4 separate regions of the Homo sapiens genome follow, and all the other regions are linked to region 1. The links are contacts of gene promoters, found by promoter capture Hi-C in blood cells and fetal thymus (Javierre and others, 2016). All regions are on one chromosome and are shown on one strand. The core of a region is centred on a gene start or on the middle of the fragment in contact, and the rest is flanking DNA. Distances in the headings are between cores, read along the strand shown.

Region 1 (5,222 bases), core at 1,643-4,142:
TTCTCTGCTTTGGTCACTGGTATTGGAAGAGTCTGGCAGGCAGGGACCAAGCATCTATTATCTGATATCCACTTGGCAGACTACATAAACAGTGAGACCTTGTGGCACAGCAGGAATTAGGTATTCCAACTACTACTTAAAGATCTACACTGACTCAGAGTGTGGCTACAACTCAAATGCTAAACTAAATGTGTGCCTCAGTTTCTCCACTGGAAATGTAATACATTATCTGCCCATCTCCTATCTTTAGAGAGGCAGCACTGCCAATTGGTTAAGAATACAGTCCCTAATTGGTTCAAATTTTGGCTTTGCCACCTACCAACTTTGGCAAGTTAATCTCCTTGTGCCTCAGTTTATTCAACTGCAAAATGGAGTTAACAATAGCACCTATCTCACAGGGTTGCTGTTAGGATTAATTAGAAAAATCTTATAGTGCCTGGCAAGTAACAAGCATTCCATAAACATCAGCTAGTATTATCATTATTTTAAACGAATGACAAGATTAACCAACTTAGTATACCTCTATTACACTTAGGAAATTACAGGCCCTAATTTTTTTTTGCTTTTTAATCATGTGGCTTAACTACTAACTGTTCTTTTTAATATAGCAAGTACACAGCCAATTAGTCCTGTAAAAAAATTCACTGTATACCCTGCCACCTAAAACGTATACATTCATCGAGTTTTAGTTAACTTTTCATCGCAATATAAGCGAACTCCCCCAACCAGTCATAAGTGACTTGCATCCATCCACTTCTACTTTCACAGTCATCACCATATTCCTTAACACCATTATTCTTACCTAGACTATCACAGTGGCCTCCCAACTGCTCCATTCCACTCTTCATGCTGTAGTAGGGAGCTCTTTTAAAAACCTAAATCTAATGTCACTCCTCTGCTTAAAAGCCTGCAATAGTTCCCCATTGTCCTAAACAAGTCCGATCTCCTAATGAGAACTAAGAGGCCTGCAAGATCTAGGGCCACCCTCCCGCTCTGGCTGCTCAGGCTATACAGGCCTTCTTTCACATCGGGCCTCAGAGCCTTCACATATCATGCTCCCCTATCTGGCGTAATCCCCTCTCCCCAGTACCCTAAGCAACGCCTAATCATCTCTGAGATCTCAGCTGAAAGGCGATGAGCGTCTGATACCCTAAACAGGATCAGGTCCTCCTATTACATGCTCTCATAACCCTGATCCTAATACTCTTTTCTGCATCACAAAATTAAACGGCAATAATTATTTAAATGGCTATTTAATACTGTCCTTGTCCAAAAAAATAGAAACACTTAGGAAGATTTGGAACCAAGTCTATCGTTTACTGCTACAACCCAAAGTGCTTACTTGCCAAGTATCTCATACATTGTAGGTGGGCTCAATATATCTATATTGCATAGTAGGAAAAGTGATGAGATCCACGATGGTGAAAAGTAGATCATCCAGAAAATCAGACTAAAGCAGAACACTGGCTGCACTGTATTAAATATGTAAGTTACCACAGGCATTACACTGAAGAGTAAAAACCTGCTTAAACATGGGCAAAATAAAGTTAAGACTGAACTTTCCAATGCAAAATTAAGTTTCTTTGTGCATCCTCAGGTGTTATGTGAAACTGGAGGAGTTCAACTTCAGTTACCAGTAAGAAGATACACAACTAAATCAAGACTGCTGCCACATTTGGCAACAACCTCCTCTCTTCTTGGCAGTAACTGTGAGGCCAAGAGTTGAGTTGGCCAGGGAAGAGTGATTTATCTTCCCACATTTAGAAGTGGTCCCTCTACAACAGGAATGCTGTACCGCTACTGGACTTTGAATTCTAACCTTGTCAAACCAGTACCTTCCCTAAGTATTCAAGTCACTTTTTAAAAAACAAGTTTAAATGGCATCGCAGTCCAATTCGACTTAGAGAAAACAAAGTTGCTCTTTCCAAAAAAAAAAAAAAGTCATTACTCTGGAAAATTAAAAGAAACTGACAGGGGGATGAATAAGGCGCTAAAGGCTGAGAGCTGTCGATGGAAGATGGAGGTCGCTCAGCATAGTATAATAACTACCACCGAGGCCTGGTGGGCAGCAGCTCCCAACCTAGAGCGGACGACCCCAGGTTGGCGTGAAGCAGGCAGGTTTGACAACACCAGACCCCTGCTGTCCGGTTCGTCGCGCTGACCCTGCCAACGCAACAAACGCCCAGACCTTCTCTGCACTATGGATGAGCAGTGTGGCCTGCTCTCGTTCTGCCCTTCCCTGGAAATGCGCGCAAGAAGGGAGGTGGCAAAAATCATGTCCACCGGGGGGGCTCAGGTAAGGGCTGGGGAGGTCTCGGGGTTAAACATTCGGCCCTTTGTTCACCAAGGCAGCAGAGCCCTTGGCGTCCGCAGCTCCTCCTCCCCGACTGCTCCCTGGCGCCAGCGTCTCCCGAGGACAGGCGGCAAGGGCTCGGACGCCCAGGCTTGGCTGCGGGTCGGGATCCCACGGCCTCGGCGGCGCGCGGCCCCTGCCTTTACCTTGTAGACGTCGCCGTAGGTGCCGCTGCCGATGCGCTGAATCAGCTCGAAGTCCTCCTGCGGGTTCCGGCGGGACAAATCGAAGCCGGGGTTCATGGCGGGCCCCAGGTGCCCCCCGCCTCCCTCCCGGGCAGGGGAGGGGGGCCGCTCAGGGGGCCACACGGAGAGAGGGCGCCGCGGCCGGCTCCCGGCTCCCCCGGCGGTCACAATCACCCGGCTCCACGCTGCGGCCGCCGCCGCCGCCGCCGCTCCCCTCACGCCGCTGCGGACGACGACAAGCGGCCAATCGTCCCCGCCCCCCGCGGCCCGCCGCCGCGCCGAACCTGGTCACACCCACAAGGAGAGGAGAACCCTCGCAGCCCCTCGCTCGGGGTGAAACTCCAACATGGCTTCCGCTTTCGCCGCTCCTCCCCCTCCCCTTACTCCGGCTCCTCCAACCTCCTCCCCTTTTCCCGACTCCCGCCCGACTGCGCAGCCGCGATCCCGGAGGGAGCGCGCCAGGCCTGGCGCGCACCCGACCCCTTGCGCGTTCCGGCTCCGCGCGCCTGCCAGGCCGGGGCCGGCGGCGGAACAGCTTGGGACCCGAAACGCCTCGGCTTTTCTGCGGACCCGCGCCCGGCCGCTGCCGCCGGACGCTTGAAAAGGTTTGCCTGGCCCAGGGACCGGGGTTAGGACTAGCAGAAAGTGGCTTCTTTTCGTTTCTGATTCCCCTAACGACAAAGTTGGACCTTGGTCTATCTGGTCCCAGTTCCAAGCAGGTAGCATAGTGGTAATATCCAAGACAGCCAATGTCCCAGCCTTTATTATTTTAGAAGCAGCTACATGTAGGATACCATGGAGTGCTGCAGCCTTTCTGGGATTGCGGGGAGGGGTCACTAAACACACCGTGAGGAAAACCCCCAGGAAAAGTGAGCTGTGCTTGCTTGCCCCTGTCACCGACACTCGGACCCTTGGAGTTGGCCTGCCAGGGTGCAAAGGAGGGCAGGCCAGGAGGGCCGCGAGGGAGGTGTGTGCAGTGGGCAGAGCGTGAAAGCTCCGGGAGGAAAACACGCGGAACAGCTGCCCACCATCCCGCGTGGGAGGCAGGCAGAGCGCAGAACTAAAGCAGTGATTGACCTCCCTCTTCGAAGAGGGTTGGATTATCAAAGACGGGCGGGGACTGCGCAGGCTGTCAAGCAACCCTGTAAAGAAGGGGTGGAGAGTGGACTAGATCTATTACCGCACCTGAAATATAAACACGTGACGATCCGGAAGCTCTTTAGCTGTGACCTTACCTACCCAAAAACCCCACCCTGCTTAAGACCCAGATTGCGCGTCTTACATCTGAGCTATGTGGACTCCAGCTCCGATTGTTAATACTTGCCCAAGAAAGCTTGAGGGTAATGGAAGGTTATTTTTCTGTTCTCATTGAACTTCCCAATAGACATTTGCAGGAGCTTTAATCAATTAGGTGATGGCCACTTTGGCAATACCACGTTGGAGTTTTGCTTCAGAAATGCTTTCCTAATCCCCTTAGGCACCACACCTTCTAACCACTAATATTCCCTAATACCTCGTGGCTCCTGAGAAACTAGGTCTCATCAAACCTGTTAAGGATAAGTATAATAAATTAATAGTAGAGCAAACTACTTAGAGTTAACTGCTTCATACTTTTTCAAAAAATCTTTTGAATCCTTTTGCTCATAGGAAAATTGCATATGTACTAAATTCTCAAATTGTTTACTTTGAGTATCTGTTGACTAAATTGATGTTTGAAAATGGTTATCTCTTCACCTATATAAGTAGCCTTTCAGTTGTGTAATTTTTAATTATTAAATTTTAAAGCATCAGTAATATGAAAGTATCACTTAAATTATTGCCTTAGGAGTGCATATCATTGAATATCTTCTCGATGGATCTACCTTCAGGCTCTGGTATCTTGAGAAACTCCTGACTATAAATGTTATTCCATAGCCAAAGGTCTTGCTTTTGCTTGTTTAAGGTACTTGCCCAGGACCCAGATTACAGGCCTTCCTTCAGTTTGTCCACATTTGGAGAATTGTTTGGCATGTTTAGGCCAAGCGCAAGAATAATTAGCCAAGGATTCAGATAAGCAGACCTGACAAATTATCCCAAATGGAAGCCAGGTCTGCTCTTTTCCTCTGCCTTTTTTTTTTTTTTTTTTTTGAGAAGGAGTTTCGCTCTAGTTGTCCAGGCTTGAGTGCAAGGGTGCAATCTCAGCTCACTGAAACCTCTGCCTCCCGGGTTCTTAGCGATTCTCCTGCCTCAGCCTCCCAAGTAGCTGGGATCACAGGCATGCAACACCACACCCAGCTAATTTTTGTATTTTTAGTAGAGATGGGATTTCTCCTTGTTGGTCAGGCTGCTCTTGAACTCCCGACCTCAGATGATCCGCCTGCCTCGGCCTCCTGAAGTGGTGGGATTACAGGCATGAGCCACTGCACCCGGCCTCTGCCTTTTTAGTGCCAGAAAGCCAAATTCTCAGGACTGAAAGCTGCACAAGAAAGTTCTAATGACTTCAGTGTTTTGTTTGCTGAGATTATCGTCTGTCCAAATAACTTTGCATTTGCATCACTAATAGACTGCTTTCAAAAGGAAAAGACATTTCAGTAGGGCTAGAACAGTCTTTAAAGTTTTGTCTGTTCCATTTTGGCAGGGCCAAGCTAGTCCTTTTGAGAAGAGATGAATTTCCATGTAAGGGCCTGATTTGCCATGTGGGTTAC
Region 2 (5,222 bases), core at 2,712-5,211, 2.9 Mb after region 1:
CACATCTGTAACCCCAGCCACTCAGGGGGCTGAGGTGACAGGACTGCCTGAGCCGGGGAGTTCGAGATCAGGCTGTGCAACACAGCAAGAACCTGTCTCAAAAAATATTTTAAAAAAATAAATAAAAGAACATCTACTACCACCAACAGAATAAACTGTGATATATTTATAAAATGAAATCCCACAGAAGAATAAGAGGATAAAAGGAATTAACTACTGATACGTACAACACGGACTAACCTCAAAAATATTTTTTGAGCAGCCAGACACGGCGGCTCACATCTGTAATTCCAACATTTTCAGAGGCAAAAGCAGGACGATTACTTGAGCTCAGGAGTGAGTCTACAGTGAACTGTGACTGTGCCATTGCACTCCAGCCTGGGTCAGAGCTGGTTCCATTTACATGAAGTTCAAAAAAAGGCAAAACTATCTATTTATGATGATAAAAGTCAGAATAAGAAGGTGGCAGGGATTGACAGAGGGTACAAGGGAACTTCCTGGGATGATGTAACATCTTGCATATTGAGGGAGGTGTGGTTATACAGTACATGGGTTTGTCCAAACTCATCAAACTGTAACATTTAATATCCATACACTGGAGAATACATTTCATAGAAGCAGATGATAGAAATGGCCATTTTCTCACATAATCTGTAAAAGAAGTGCAACACTGCTGACTATTCCTTCCTTACAAGTCATTACCAATTCGGTTTCAGTGAGACCACACTGGTTTCCCTTCTCATCCGGACTATTCTTTAAACACATTCTCCTTCTCCACCCTTCCCTCATGTTTCTATACTCTAACTATAATCCAACCTTTCTTCCCTACAAATTACCACCTATGGGCTGAAGACACCCAAGTTTATTAAACTCCATATTCAAAAATCTAGCTGCTACCAAGCATGACATATCACAAACTCAACATTTATAAACCCTAAACTCTTCCTTCCCGTTCCCACCGCAACTCCCCCACTAACCCCCGAAAAAAAAAAAAAAAACTTGCCCTTCTTATCTGAGATTAGAATCATCTGTTTTTGTTTTTAGAGACAGGGTCTCACTATGTTGCCCCAGGCTGATCTCAAACTCCTGGGCTCAAGCGACCCTCGGCCTCGGCCTTCCAAAGTGCTGTGATTTACAGGCGTGAGCCACGGTACCAGACCTGAAATCTTTCTTAAACATCTGCCTCTTGGGCAAGCTGCAGTGTCCCACAGAAAAAGGAAATGAAGCAACAGTAATGGAGTATCCTTTACACCTCATCTGGGCCCCTCACTACTGCAGTCTAACTGCGTATCTCACCGACACTTCCCACACTTCTCTAGAGGATTAGGAGGGAATATACTATCTCAGACAGCTTCTGGTGAACAGTTAACACTTATCCAGAACCAACCACCTGCCCAAACTGCTAGTCACTTGACACACTTCATTTAATGTGTACTAACGCCGCCCTGGATGAAACTGAGCTCACAATAAATTAAATAACTTGGCCAAGGTCACACAATTAAAGCGGAAAACGCCATGATTTGAAAAGGCACGTCTGGGGCTCTAAAATCCCTCATGTTTACCCCCAACACATGCTGGAGAGTCAAACTCCAATTGGTAGAATCTGCGTGAAATGGAATACTTTTCAGACAACCCAAACAACGAGCATCTGTCAAATATTTTACAATCGGGAAAGTGTAACCTCGCTGCATGCAACTTCCCTCCCTGGACGTGTTAAGTAACCTGTTAAATTTCCCAACCCAGATCATAGCCCCCCAACCCCCTGCACCATGGTTTCTCTAAACGCCTTTATAGCCCCGCGCTCTCTAATCTCGAGCTCAAGTGAGGCTGCCTATGGGGCTCTGGCAGATGACAAACGACAAGGAGGCCGAAAGCCAGATGTCTTCGAATTGAGGGAGAAGGCCGGACCTCTGACTCGGGTCACACTGGGGACCCCCACAAACCATCCCTTTTAGACAAGTGACCCCGGGGGTCACCTTGACCCCTGCAGTGAGCCAGACCAAACTTCCACGCCAGGCCAGCCCCCGCCAGGTGAGCAGGTACACAAAAAGAAGCCTCAGTGACCACCGTACGCTGGTGTGGAGAGGCCCCGGGAGGTGCAAGGAGAACAGAGACGAACTCGACCGCGGGCAGAAGCCTCCCCTGGCTCCAACGCCGCGACTGCCTGTCGCCGAGGCTAGGGCCGCCACTTCTCATGTCCGAGCTGGCCAGGCGCCACTCGTACCTGCGGGCTATAGGCCTCCGAAGCCCATGCTCCTGCCAACTTCTGCGTGAAGCCACTAAACTTGTAGTACATGACGCCCAGAGTCCGGCTTCCCGCATCCGCTGCCAACGCGACCGCCCCAGAGAAGGACCCCGCCTCCCCGGCTGTGGTCCCGAGACTCAGCGCAAGGACCCGGTGCTGGGACTAGGGCTGCCCGAAGATCGCCTAACTTAAAACCTGCACACTTAAGCCGCATTGGGGAACCAAAAGCCAGGGTTCTCAGGACCACGAAAGGCAAAACCAGCTCTAAGAGAGCACGCAAAGTCGCTGTGGCGGAGTCTGTAGGAAATATGAAGTTCCCTCTTTCCCCCATTCAGATTTGGGCAGTGCCACGACAACTCAAGAAATGCGCAAGCGCTCCACGGACTAAGCCCGGCGGACTAAGCCCGGCAGTGTCGGAGTCAGGTGGAGCATGCTTTAGGAGGGGCGGGCTCCAGGCGGGGCCTGGGGGGGAGAGGGCGGTGATTGGTGGGCGTGGTCTGGGTAGGGGCGGGGCTACATCGAAGCCGGTTGGGAATTCCACCATCCGAGAGAGTCTGTGCTGCGGAGCCACCGTCTGGTCGTCGGGTTGAAGGCGTCTCTTGCTTTACCGAACTTTAACTGATCGTAGTCTCATTTATTTCCTTCCGACCTAGAGCACCTCTTATCCAGAAGCCACCACCTGCTGTTGCTCAGTCTGCCCAGGAGTATAGACTTGTCGGCCAAGCTTCCCCTGGCAACCTGGGAGTTGAAGCAAATAAGAAAATTTGGAAGCACCTGCTGAAGGCTGTTTAGTACCCAGGGCTGTTGGGAGATTTGCCCCAATAATATAAAAGTAGCCTCCTGGGCTTTGTGCAGAGGAAATACACATGCAGAGTGATCTAAAGCTCAGGTACCAGGATGTAAATGTCACACGGTTTCTCAGAACTGGTTTTTATTCTCACCTGAGTTTTAAGGTCATTGATTATTCATCCTTTTCCTGGCCTCTGCTCTTTGCGATAAATGAGGTAGGGGGAGGGTGATCAGAAACACTTGTAAAATCTGGACCTTGAGCCTGAAAGATCTGGAACTACCACTTTCAGTTCTGGTAGTATTCGCTTCAGTTCAATTTAAATATGTCTGTTAAGCCTGTGCTGTGTGCAAGGTACTGTGTAAAAGGAGTATACTAGTTTCTTACTCTCCAGGGATGGACTCAGGCTTTTCTTAGCTTCATCATCTAACCATAGGTTTACACAAGCATATTCTAGATGCACTTATGAAATCATGTTGCAAATTGATGGATGATACTAACCTATATATAGCATTGCCCTAAACTCATTTAATCTTCACAACAATCCTATAAGGTAAATGCTATTATCATCTCCATTTTAGAATACAGGAAAATGACGCCTGGAGAAGCTAAGTAACTTGCTCAGGTCAGGGATAAGTGGCAGAGCTAGGCATTTGGCTCAAGACTTCCTACTGTTAAGCACTATGTTACAAATAAATAGATATGAAGCCATTCTGAAAAGAGGAGGATCAAGGCTGAGCATTCCAGGGTGAGGGTGTACACCAGCATCCTGGTTGCAGGCTTACGTTCAAGAGCCCCAAGTATTCAGCACCGCCAATATGTTGTAAAGGTTTCAGCGAATTCATGTAAGCCAGCCCAAAGTTGCCACTTTTACAAAGAGACACTGTGATATAATGGAAAGAACATGCAATTTGGGTTTATGTCCATATTTCTCCAAGGATAAGTGGTTTGGGACTAGTGATTTCCTTTTTTTTTTTTTTTTTTTTAAATTCTTTTTGAAACAGGGTCTCACTCTGTCCCAGGCTGGAGTACAGTGGTGTGATCTCGGCTCATTGCAGCCTTGACTTCCCAGGCTGAGGTGATTCTCCTACCTCAGTCTCCCGGGTAGCTGGAACCACAGATGCGCGCCACCACGCCTGGCTAATTTTTTGTATTTTTAGTAGAGATGGGGTTTCACCATGTTTCCCAGGCTAGTCTCAAACTCCTGGGCTCAAGTGATCTGCCAAACTCAAGACTCCCAAAATGCTGGGATTACAGGCATGAGCCACCGTGCCAGGCCCACCCCATGTTTTGATACTGAATAGATTCAGGAAGATTTTTCTACGACAAAAAGTTCGACTACCTCAAAAGAAAATGATCCATTGACATTAGCCTTCTTGAGTCCCAGGCGCTAGCAAATATTGAGTGAAAGAAAAAGCCTTTCATAGAGTTTAGATTGAAAAGAGAAATTAAATGATTTGGGACAGCTACTGTCTCCATCCCACTGACTTCTGGACATATTTTGGAAGAAGAAACGAAAGAATATTCTCTAACTTTTAGCAGCACTAAGGTGTACCAGCTTCTTTTATAAGGTGCCTGTCAACACTGGTTATTTTCTTAAAGTTCCTGCCATCTGATTTTAGATCCTGCAAGACATAAATTAAGAATCCTGAAAATGTTACAACAGCCAGGCTGTTCAGTGGGAGATAAAATGTCAGTAGCAGAGTGTGGGTTGGGATGTCACATGGAATGGCTGATCATGGGAAGATTTTGTCTCATTTCCCAAATAAAACACAGCACACTCTGACAGTACTAAGGCACCCTATTCTCATTCGTATTTGCATATCCCATCCAACATCAAAGACAATCTTTTTTTATCACGATCCCTTCAGGTTGTTCCCCACATTCTATTCTGAAGGGAAGTGACCACGACTCAGAGTAGAGAAGCTTGCCAATCACCAGGTGAACTGAGTGAGTGCAAATGCCAGTCCAGCTCCTGGTGAATCTGAATGCCGCTGCTTCTCCATTTGTGAGGGGTGTGTGCTAATGGCCTCTGGCAGGCCGCTCTGTGAAAGCGCCTGGGGAATGGATGGAAAACCAACATAAAATTTAAATTGGGTAATACTGAGTAGAGATAGGAACCAACTGTGAAATAGTTGTTAATTTTTTAAATTCTCTCATTTTTTCCAAGCTGACTTTTAAAAAATTGAC
Region 3 (5,222 bases), core at 1,216-3,715, 2.7 Mb after region 1:
AAATTTCTGGAAAGCAGGTTTGTCTGTGGTGATGAAGGGTTGTGGGTAGGGCAATGAATAAAATAAAGACCCCTAGTTATATTTTAATTTCAGCTATAGAAAACTAATGCAATATTTGGGATATATTTATAATAAAAAATTCATTGTCTGAAATTCAAATTTGACGGGATGATCTGTGTTTTGTTTTGTTTTGTTTTGTGTTTTTGCTAAATCTGGAAATCCTAGTTTGGGTGGCAGGCTAGAGAGGAGAACCTCAGGCATTTGAGGGAGTGGTGGGTCTCATCTGTGTGGAACTGTCCCCCAGGGGCTGCAGGGAAAGCATACAGGCATTTGGGGTTGTCCCAAAAATTAGGGGTTGCTAGTGGCATTTGGCAGATGTGGATCAAGATGCTAAATATAGTACATTAGGTATAGTTCCAATGAAGTTTTGTTCTAATGAAGAATTGTCCCATCGTAAACACCAATAGCACCTAGACCAGTGCCACCTGCTGTACCATTTTACTGAGGACTGACTCTATCAGCCTCACATAGTTGATTCCCAGAAAGCAGTGCACCAGCTAGTCAGAGAGCTTCAGAACCTGCCCTCAAGGGAAGAGACAACCAACGTCCCAGGTATTTGCCCCAAAGCCTCCTATGGTCCAAACCAAGGCATATAGCTGGTCCACTGAAATGAACCCCTGAAACGAACTGCAAGCCTTCGAAGCTTACTCTGAGTACCACCTCCTTCAGGAAGCTTTCTTTTGACTGCTCCAATTTTCACTAATCTGTCTGCTCTGAGTACCACCTCCTTCAGGAAGCTTTCTTTTGACTGCTCCAATTTTCACTAATCTGTCTGCTCAATCCCTAAAACTCTTTTTCTTCTAATTTAACATTTGAACATATTCTGCTAATAGTTCCCTGTGTGCTAGCCTGTGAGTTTTTCTCTCCAACTAGCCTGGGTACTCAGGAAAGTGAGATCAACTTCTGGGTGGCCTTGGGTGTAGCTGACCTGTGCAAATAGGGGAGACAGTTGACATACAGATGAAAGGGGAGATGGGAAGCCATACAGAGGAAGGAGAAGATCAGGAACCAGAGATAAGATAATTCTGTAAATGGATACTAAATTGAAGTCTGGGCTTCCTGACAGCTCAATCAAAAAGTGAAACACAATTGGTTACATCACTCTTACTGTCTGAAAAAAGGAAGCAATATCAGCTCATGAGGAAATGTAATCTTTTCCCTCATGCTAAATTGTAAGTGAAATTTATTACATAGATCCTAAAAGACAGGATTCTGAGAAACAGAATGAGCAATGACTCCAATTGAGTTTTCAGAATATACAAAAAGGGTTTGTTTGTTTGTTTGTTTGTTTGTTTTTCTGTGATTACCCTCTAAGAAAGTCAGAACTGGTGGGAAGCAGTGGCTCACACCTGTAATCCCAGCACTTTGGGAGGCCGAGGCAGGCAAATGGCTTGAGCTCAGGAGTCCGAGACCGGCCTGGGCAACATGGTGAAACCCTGTCTCTACTAAAAATACAAAAAAAAAATTAGTCAGGCATCATTGTCATCCCAGCTACTCGGGAGGCTTAGGTAGGAGGATCACTTGTGCCCAGGAGGCAGAGGTGGAGGTTACAGTGAGCCGAGATGGCACCACTGCACTCCAGCCTAGGTGACAGAGCGAGAGACCCTGTCCCAAAAAAAAAAAAAAAAAAGAAGTCAGAACTCCAGTATTGAACCTTGGCTCAGTGCAAAAATTTTTATAAGGAATTAAGCTAATGTATTCTAAATATATTGGTTTCTAGTGATTTTTATTAATAAACGTGTACTCAGGAGTTTTCAACAGCCCAGAGCTGTTATGAAGCCTTCATATGTGGCTCCCTCAGGAGCTTCTGACAGCCTTAAGGAAAGAGTGGGGGTGGAAGCTAAGTTTGTGGTTAGGGGTAGAGGAAAGAATGGGAACAGACACACTCTACTTGTCACCCCACCCTCCTCTCCCCAAGCTAGAATCAGACAGTGGGAATTATGCACCCTGCCAAGAAGGCGCTTCCCAGCCACATCCCCAGTAAAGGAATAGAGGAAAACAGGATGTCACCAAGGGCCCACCCCAGGATAGGATCGTGAGAATGACTTGAGAGACTCCCTGATGGTATGGATCACCTTCTAATGAGGGCTACACTTTGGGTTAGTTTGCCTCTCCTCCAAAGGCAGGGAACAAATAATTAGATGACTCAAAACAGAGTTTCCATTTTTTTGTTTGTTTTATTTGAGGCCCAGGGGCTGTGGGTTGTTGATTAACACACATGTCCCTCTCCGTGCCCACCCATCCCCATCTCAGGTAACACCCCTAGGGCTTGGTGGCTAGCTGTGGCAAAATCATGGTGAGTCTGTAGATTATCAAAAATCTAAGCAGCAGGCCTGGGATGAGAGGTCAAGGCCAAAGGTACAAACCTCTGGCACGGGCTTTTGTCTTTTGTGTTTTCAATGGCAGTAGCTTCAATTTCCTTCCTGCTGGTGTGAAAAGGATGACTGGAGCAGGCAGGGCTGATCCAGGTGCAGGTGGGGAGGATCAAACAGCCTGCCCACTGCTCCCTCTCCTCTCCTCACTGGGGCTGAGGGAGTCTCCTGTGGGAGAGAGGGGGCCATCTTTCCTTCGTCCCCGAGGAGAGGTCAACCTGATTGTGCTGCCCTTGCTTGCCTAGGGCAGTTGCTTCTCGGGTTGGTAGATACTGGGCTTAGTGCTGGAATGTGGATACTGGACTCATTTCTGATTTTCTGGCTCTTCAGCAATGTTGACCCAGGCCCTCCCTATCACATGGGATTAGAGGAAGGAGGTTTAGGTAGAGTCATTTGTGGTTACTCAGCATCTGAACTCCCTTCACATGTTTAGGACATTTACCTTTTTATGAATCTTGGTGTCCTAAGAAAGAGCCCTAAGGACCAGATACTCTCTTATTTTATTTCATCTTATTTTATTTGAGACGGAGTCTTGCTTGGTCACCTAGGCTGGAGTGCAGTGGGGTGATCTCAGCTCACTGCAACCTCCACCTCCCGGGTTCAAGCAATTCTCCTGTCTCAGCCTCCTGAGTAGCTAGGGCTACAGGTGCCCACCATCACATCCGACTGATTTTTATATTTTTAGTAGAGATAAGGTTTCACCATATTGGTCAGGCTGGTCTCGAACTCCTGACCGTAGGTGATCACCCACCTTGGCTTCCCAAAGTGCTGGGATTACAGGCATGAGCCACCACGCCTGGCCCAGATACTCTCCTTTCTAGTCTCTTTTAAAGGTAGGATATGGACACATAACCGAGACTTGGCCAACAGGTGCAGCTGCTCCAGAAGGAATCAGAAATTACTGGCACCAACAAATACGGATCCCTTTTCACAGGAAACTGCAGGGCAGCAAAAATATACAAGCTCCCAGTGCAGTGGTGCTTATGGTGGTATCCAGTGTCTGCAGCTGAAGAGGGTGACAATGTAAGTTGTGGTCCAGCACTGGGCAGTGGCAACAGTGGTATCATCATCTTAGGCCCTGTGCTGTGATTGTACCTATAGCCTTGGCTGTGATCCTGAATTTCTGGTTCCTGTGTTTTTTGAGCCTATTTCTCTAGCCTTCCCAGTTTTTCTATGAGTTGCCCAATAGCATTTCAACAAATTATTTTTCTGTTTAAATCAATCAGAGTTGGTTTCTGTTGCTTGCAACTGAGAACCCTGATTCTGTCTAACTACAACTGGCTTCGGTCAGTCATTTGCAGATGCTTTTTCTCTTTCGCTGCCTGCATTCTTCATGCCTCTGCTCTCCTGGCAATTCCTCAAGTAATCCAGAAAAGGAGGAAAGAGCATGCAGAGAATTTGACCACAGCTGGGAAGTGAGCCAAGAGAACACTGAAGAACTTGACTATTAGATCTCCTACTTTGTTAGGTGGGGTGAATGCAATATTAATGAGACAGAAGGCTGTGAGCTGTCTGTCATTTTATTTTTTTATCTCTAACTTGGTTATACAATGATACAATTATTACCTATGGTACTTAAAGGCCTATGAAGGCATGGACCAAGTCTCCCTTGTTTGCCCCAGTATCTAGGTCATACTAGGTACTCAGTAAGTAGTAGTAGGGGATGATGATGGAAGTTTGAGAAACAGAATTCAGGGAAGAGAAGCTTAATATATCCTTAATGTCTTTAAAAAAAGAATTGTCTCATCTATGTGGGAGCTAAAGATTAAGGTCTGCAAGTCGAGCCAACACTGCGAATATGTGGTGGTGTTGATTGAGGAGCAAGAGCCTGGAGCTTTAGCCATCAGACATTCAAAAGCAGAAATGACATTCTCCCAGACAGACAGAGCCTAACTTGGGTCTAGCCCAGACAGGATGCCGGTCCATTTCTTCTTGGAAGGGGGCCCCAAGAATGCCTGCAAGCTGAATTGAGATGGATCTCCAAAAAGCATTTTGAATCAGTTTCAAATGCATTGGCAGTCTGGGGGAGTCAATGTGAGTCTAGATAACCAAGGGCAGGGTTTCAGCTCTCTTAAGCAGAAAATAACTTCAATGCATCTCTTTTTTTTTCTTTTTTTCTTTTTCTTTTTTTTTTTTTTTTGTTTTTCAGACAGAGTCTCACTCTGTCTCCCAGGCTGGAGTGCAGTGGTGCAATCTCAGCTCACTGCAATCTCCACCTCCCGGGTTCAAGCCATTCTCCTGCCTCAGCCTCCCAAGTAGGTGGGACTGTAGGCACCCACCACCACACCTGGCTAATTGCATCTCTTGTAGTAAGCTTAGTTTTGAGTAACACTCTCACCTGTCTCATCTGGATTTGGGTCCTTGAGGATGCATAGTTCCAAACTGACTCAGGTGCTAATTCTTGTTCATGGGATTAACTAATGAACCCTTACCTCAGGCAGGCCTCTTAATTACGTTGTTTAAGTTCTCATTTCCCAATTTTAAAATCCCTGGTTTCAAAATATAGGGTTTGAATTACTGTGCTCACCAATTTCTTATCTAAAATGTGACAATTCCTATTACTTCCCTTAAGGACAAGAGTATAGGCATGAGCCACCGCACCCGGCCTAGCAGTGGTAAATTTAAAAAAGGGAAAATAGGTCGAGTGCAGTGGCTCATGCCTGTAATCCTACCATTTTGGGAAGCCAACGTGGGCAGATCACTTGAGCCCAGGAGGTCGAGGCTGCCATGAGCCGAGATCACACCACTGCACTCCAGCCTAGGTGACAAAGTGAGATCCTGTCTCAAAAA
Region 4 (5,222 bases), core at 2,003-4,502, 2.7 Mb after region 1:
AAAGCACTGATTGAATGCACAGTCTTCTGTTGGATCCTGGGATGATACAGAAGTGTCAGAGTTCCTGGGTCTTGTAGGAGTTCCAATGAGCATCAATCAAAAGTTTGATTGTAAGGCACAGAAATCAACTTGGACCAGCTAAAGCAAAAAGACCATTTTTAGGGAAATAGGGATGTGTCACAAAGAACTGCATCTAGGTACTGGAAATCAACAAAAAGTTCCCCATCTGATCTCAGCTTCTCTGTGTGTCTACTACATACACTATCTTTCTCCTCTTTTCTTTCCTCTCTACCCCCTACCTCCCTCCTCTCTCTTTTTTTTTTTTTTTTTGTTTTTTGGTTTTTTTATGTTTGTTTGTTTGCTTTTGGAGACACGGTCTCCCTCTGTCACCCAGGCTGGAGTGCAGTGGCTTAATTACTGCAGCCTCAATCTCCTGGGCTCAAGTGACCCTCCCACCTCAGCCTCCTGAATAGCTGGGACCACAGGTGCAAGCCACAGTGCTCAGCTAATTAAAAAAAATTTTTTTTTCAGAGATGGGGTCTCACTATGTTGTCCAGGCTGGTCTCAAACTCCTAGGCTCAAGCAGTCCTCCCGTTTCAGCCTCAAAAAGTGCTGGGATTACAGGTGTGAGCCATCGCACTCCACCTTCTCTATAGTTACTGAGTTTGCGTGTTACACTGAGTTTACATCTTACATTTCTAGCCATATCAGAAACGACCTCTGCACCTCTCTTTCCCAATTTGAGATTTCTAATAGAAAGAATCTTGTTCACCCAGCTTGGGACTCATTGAGTTATGACCAGTGGGATAGATTTTAGAAGATAAACATGTCTATAGGGACTTACCGTGTGAATTAGTGGGGGAGCCGCTTACCAGGCAGAGGGGTCTGCTGTAAAGTGATACTGTGACTTTAAATTGAAAGTAAGCTTCTAGAAGAGTTGAAGAGGAGTGGATTATTGTTGAATGGATGTATAACTAATGAAGCTTTAAAGGAAGTTTATTAGAAAGTCCATGTCCTTGTCTCTTTCCCAAACTCCTTTAGTTCCCAAGTCCTGAAAGAATCTATGGATAAGGGAAGCAGAATACTATAGTGGTTAAGAGCACATGCTCGAGGTTAAACTGTCTGTATTTTGGATCCTGGCCTTGAGGACTTGGGCAAGTTACGTGACCTGCCTGAGCCTCAGTTTCCTCACCTGTAATATGGGTATCACGAGGAATAAATAAGGTAATATGTGTAAAGTGCTTGGCACAATGCTCTTGATAATGTTAGCAACATAATTTTGTAATGAAAATTAACTGATGGGGCTGAAATGTGCATCAGCAGATCCAAATATCCTTGATAAACTGGCCAAAAGAAAGATGAATTGGCAGAGAGGCAAGTGTTCATCTCAGTTCTCCAGATATCCCTGCAAATGTGGCCTCTGGAGTAGAAGATTTAGGGAGAAAAATAAGCCATGAAGCTCTTCTGGCACCAACATGAACTTCAGGGATCATGGGACATTTGGGCCAGTAACATTCCTCTTTGTTCCTAGAGATTTAATATCTACCTACCAACTAAATGGCCTTGATTTGGAGGAGAGAAGACAAGAAGAGGAATTGCTTTCAGCTGGTCCTTGCCTTTAACTAACCAGGGGTACAAAAATTTTAAAATACAAAGGAGACCATGTGTAAAACATTAGTTAAGCTCAGATATAAATCTAGTCTTTGACCAGTCCAGAGCTAATCAATATGCTTTTCTACTCTCTTTGAACTTTTGAGTTTTCTGGCAACAACAAAAATCCCAAACCTCATCCAAAACCGTAGTCCAGACAGCCCAGTTTCTGCACTCCCTTCCTTGTGTCACATATTGTTGACAGAACTACTCCCGTTACCACATTCATTCCAGTGGTGATTCAAATTCTTCTGCAGAAATGGACTTGAAAGACAGAAAACTGCTCCTGTAATCACTTAATAAGGAATCTTGGATGAGGAATACAGAGCTATGAATATGGATTTACTCTTAGCCTTTATGGATGCCTTTTTCTCAGTTATTTTCACTGAAAATCATGATGAACTGATTTAAATATCAAGGTAAACTGAGATGGAAAATTACCGATAATAAGAGTTTTCTGAAAATATAGATTGGCCTCTTTAAAGCACATCGAGTTTGTTTTGTTTAAATTACAAATTCACATATATTTGAAATGTGTTTAAATGTGTCAGTTTTAGGCAAAACTAAACTATTTGATTCCTTTCCAAAAATCAGGAATTTGCTTTGGAAAAAAACCATGCAGTTTGATTTACAAAGCAGAGCGGGGGGGAAGTAGTGGGTGAGAAAGACCCACCCAAAGGCTGCAGCCAGCTTCCCCAGGAAGATTCATAACCATGCCACAATACTGTCCTTCAATTCGTTCCAACAGATTTTACTATAACTCTAAATCATTAGAAGCAACTGCTGCTATGACTAGTGCTATCTTTGCCTCAAAAAGAGGAAAAATCAGGACATACAATATAATCCCCTCAGGATCTAGGAGAGAAATCAGCCCATTTGTCATAAGAACTGAAAACCTCAGCTAAATAGTATATGAAACATTGGTATTTCATACCTTGACATTACATATTTTTGAAAATAAAGTAAGCATACACACAAGAAGTGGCTAGATGCAGCAGTTATAAAGTGGCTTAAGTTGGGTTAACTAAATATAACCTAGAAAAACCATCTTATCTATTGCAAATTATTTCCAGAAAAAGGTAAGAAAAATCCAACCAACACTTTTTAAACATCCTGAGCTATTCACAGCAAGTGAATCTTTACCCTTACCAGATGTATAAACATTTACATAAGGCAGGAGGTTCAACACTTGGAGAGTGTAATCAAGGCAGTAGTAACGCAGTGCTCCTCTCTTTGACTTGAATGACTTCCTCCCCATTAGGGTCATTATTGTTTTGCAGTGTCCCAGGGATGAAAGGACTTTGAAAGGTCATGTGTCTTGTGACCCAACTAGCAGCATCAGCATCACTGGGGAGAAACTCAAGCAGAAGCTTGAGTCTACTCCACTCTTGCTGACACCAAATCTGCATTTTTACAGGATTCTTGGGTGAGTCACACACATATTCAAGGTTAAAATATGCCACCCTAGGTCTTTCTCCTGCTTCTGAGCAAAACTGGGCACAAGGGACAAACTAGTTTCCTTCAGCCACTTTCAAATCCTTTATAGAGTGTACTGTGTGAGTCACTGAGAGGAAAGAGGAAATAATACTTATTTAGGGAAGTCTTGCATAACTTAACAAAGTTAGTAACTTCTTCAATACACTCAAGTACCTATTTTTGGAAGCCCTACAGGTTAGGTCAAAGTAAAGAGAAGCAAAAAATGGAGTGAGTTCTAGTAAAAAACTCTGACAAAATAAGGGAAGTGTAGAAGCTGAGTCTATGAGGGATGAGAGAAGCAATTTACCAAATTATCAGATCCAAAATCATCTCTGCACTGTAGATGATTTATAGCCCTGGAAGCTTAGAGGCTTGAGTCTCTTGCTGTATTTCATTTCAAATTAGTAATTTTTATCTAGGGCTTCCCTATGGCTTAAAGTGAAGGCCCTGGAATTTCTGAAGTGAAATTATCTGATGATTTTTATGTATGGTCATTCTGTAGTTATCCTGTAAGTTTCATATTTGTAACAAGACTGGAATCCGAACAATAGAAAACTCTGTGGCAGTAAGCCAAAACCTGATGGACTTAGGAGAGTTACGTATGTGTGTTTCAGTGGTCCTCAAATTCAGCTGCCTATTAGAATCACCTGGACTTTGAAAAAAAAAGAGCTTTCTTGAGGTATAACTGACAAATAATAAGACAAACATATTTCAGTATACAATTGGATGAGTTTTGACATGTTATATTCTTGTGAAACCATCACCACAATCAAGCTATTCACCCCCCAAATTTTCGTGCCCCTTTGTTGTCCCACCCTTCTTTCTGCAACCACTGATCTGCTTTCTATCACTATGGATTAATTTGTATTTTCTAGAAGCTTAAATAAGTGAAACCATATGGTGTGCATGTTTTGCAGGGAGAGGGCAGGGGGAGCTGGTTTCTTTCACTCGGTGTAATTGTTCTGAGAGTCATCCGTGTTTGCATGTGTTAATAGTTTATTCTTTTTATCGGTAAGTAGTATCCCATTGTGTGGATGTACCACATGTTGTCTAACCATTCACAACTAAAGGATACTTGGGTTGTTTCTCATTTGGGGCAATTGAAAATAAGCAGTATAAACTGCTATAAACAGTCATGTACAGATATAAGCATGTATGTTTCCATTTTTCAAGGTAAATACCTAGAAGTGGGTATGGTAAGTGTATGTTTAACTTGAAAAGAAACTACCAAAATGTTTCCAAAGTGGTTGTACCATTTTGCTTACCTACCAGAAATGTGTAAGAGTTCTAGTTACTCCACATACTTCCTAGCAGTTGATATTCTCAGTTTTTTTTTTTATTTTAACCGTTCTAATAGCTGTGTAATGGTATTCCATTACAGTACTAATTTAAATTTCCCTAATAACTACTGAGGTTGAAAAAATCTTTCATGGGCATATTTGCCATCCTTGTATCTTCTCTGGTGACGAATCTTTCATGCCTTCTGCTTATATTTTAACCAGGGTTTTGTTTTGCTTTTTCTTAACTGTTGAGTTTTAAGAGTCTATATATACTGCAAACAACTCCTTGGTAAGATATATGATTGGCAAATCCTTTCTCCTAATCTTTTTATTTCCTTAACAATGCCTTTCAAGAACAGAAATTCTTAATTTGATGCAATGCAATTTATTAGTTTTCTTTTTTCTTTTTTTTTTTTTTTTTTTTTTTGAGACGGAGTCTCGCTCTGTCGCCCAGGCTGGAGTGCAGTGGCGCGATCTCGGCTCACTCCAAGCTCCGCCTCCCGGGTTCACGCCATTCTCCTGCCTCAGCCTCCCGAGTAGCTGGGACTACAGGCGCACACCACCACGCCTGGCTAATTTTTGTATTTTTAGTAGAGATGGGGTTTCACCATGTTGGCCAGGCTGCTCTCAAACTCCTGACCTCAGGTGATCCACCCGCCTCAGCCTCCCAAAGTGCTGGGATTACAGGCGTGAGCCACCATGCCCAGCGTATTAATTTTCTTGCATGGATGGTGCGTTTGGTGATCTGAGAAATCTTTACCTAACCCAAGGTCACAGAGATTTTCTCCTGTTTGCTTCCAAAATTTTTATACGTTT

Evidence for each region. The method cuts DNA at HindIII sites, captures the fragments that hold promoters and counts their contacts. A CHiCAGO score of 5 or more calls a contact.
Region 2: a fragment that was not itself captured here is called in contact with the fragment with the promoter of MAP4K3 in region 1 in 1 of 17 cell types (total CD4 T cells); the score reaches 5.7 in total CD4 T cells.
Region 3: a contact is called between a fragment that was not itself captured here and the fragment with the promoter of MAP4K3 in region 1, in 1 of 17 cell types (M0 macrophages). The highest score is 5.3, in M0 macrophages.
Region 4: a fragment that was not itself captured here is called in contact with the fragment with the promoter of MAP4K3 in region 1 in 1 of 17 cell types (M0 macrophages); the score reaches 5.3 in M0 macrophages.

Annotation. Positions count from the first base shown.
Region 1 is chr2:39,434,393-39,439,614 of GRCh38, forward strand. It overlaps MAP4K3 (mitogen-activated protein kinase kinase kinase kinase 3), which reads right to left and starts at 2,893. Exons shown (of 34, transcript NM_003618.4): 1 at 2,500-2,893. The coding sequence starts at 2,595. It overlaps MAP4K3-DT (MAP4K3 divergent transcript), which reads left to right and starts at 3,024. Exons shown (of 6, transcript NR_037875.1): 1 at 3,024-3,143. RefSeq lists an enhancer at 2,087-2,166 and silencers at 2,497-2,856, 2,927-3,146. The HindIII fragment of the contact is 5,405 bases long and covers 1-3,869 here.
Region 2 is chr2:42,358,866-42,364,087 of GRCh38, forward strand. COX7A2L (cytochrome c oxidase subunit 7A2 like) reads right to left here and starts at 2,352. Exons shown (of 3, transcript NM_004718.4): 1 at 2,225-2,352. The coding sequence starts at 2,296. RefSeq lists enhancers at 761-840, 1,525-2,269, 2,043-2,362, 2,270-3,013, 3,003-3,092 and 1 more and a silencer at 2,643-2,812. The HindIII fragment of the contact is 1,989 bases long and covers 2,968-4,956 here.
Region 3 is chr2:42,134,970-42,140,191 of GRCh38, forward strand. No RefSeq gene overlaps it. Among named protein-coding and RNA genes, the nearest start is that of EML4, 32 kb to the right of the region's middle. The HindIII fragment of the contact is 3,340 bases long and covers 796-4,135 here.
Region 4 is chr2:42,115,194-42,120,415 of GRCh38, forward strand. No RefSeq gene overlaps it. Among named protein-coding and RNA genes, the nearest start is that of EML4, 52 kb to the right of the region's middle. The HindIII fragment of the contact is 469 bases long and covers 3,019-3,487 here.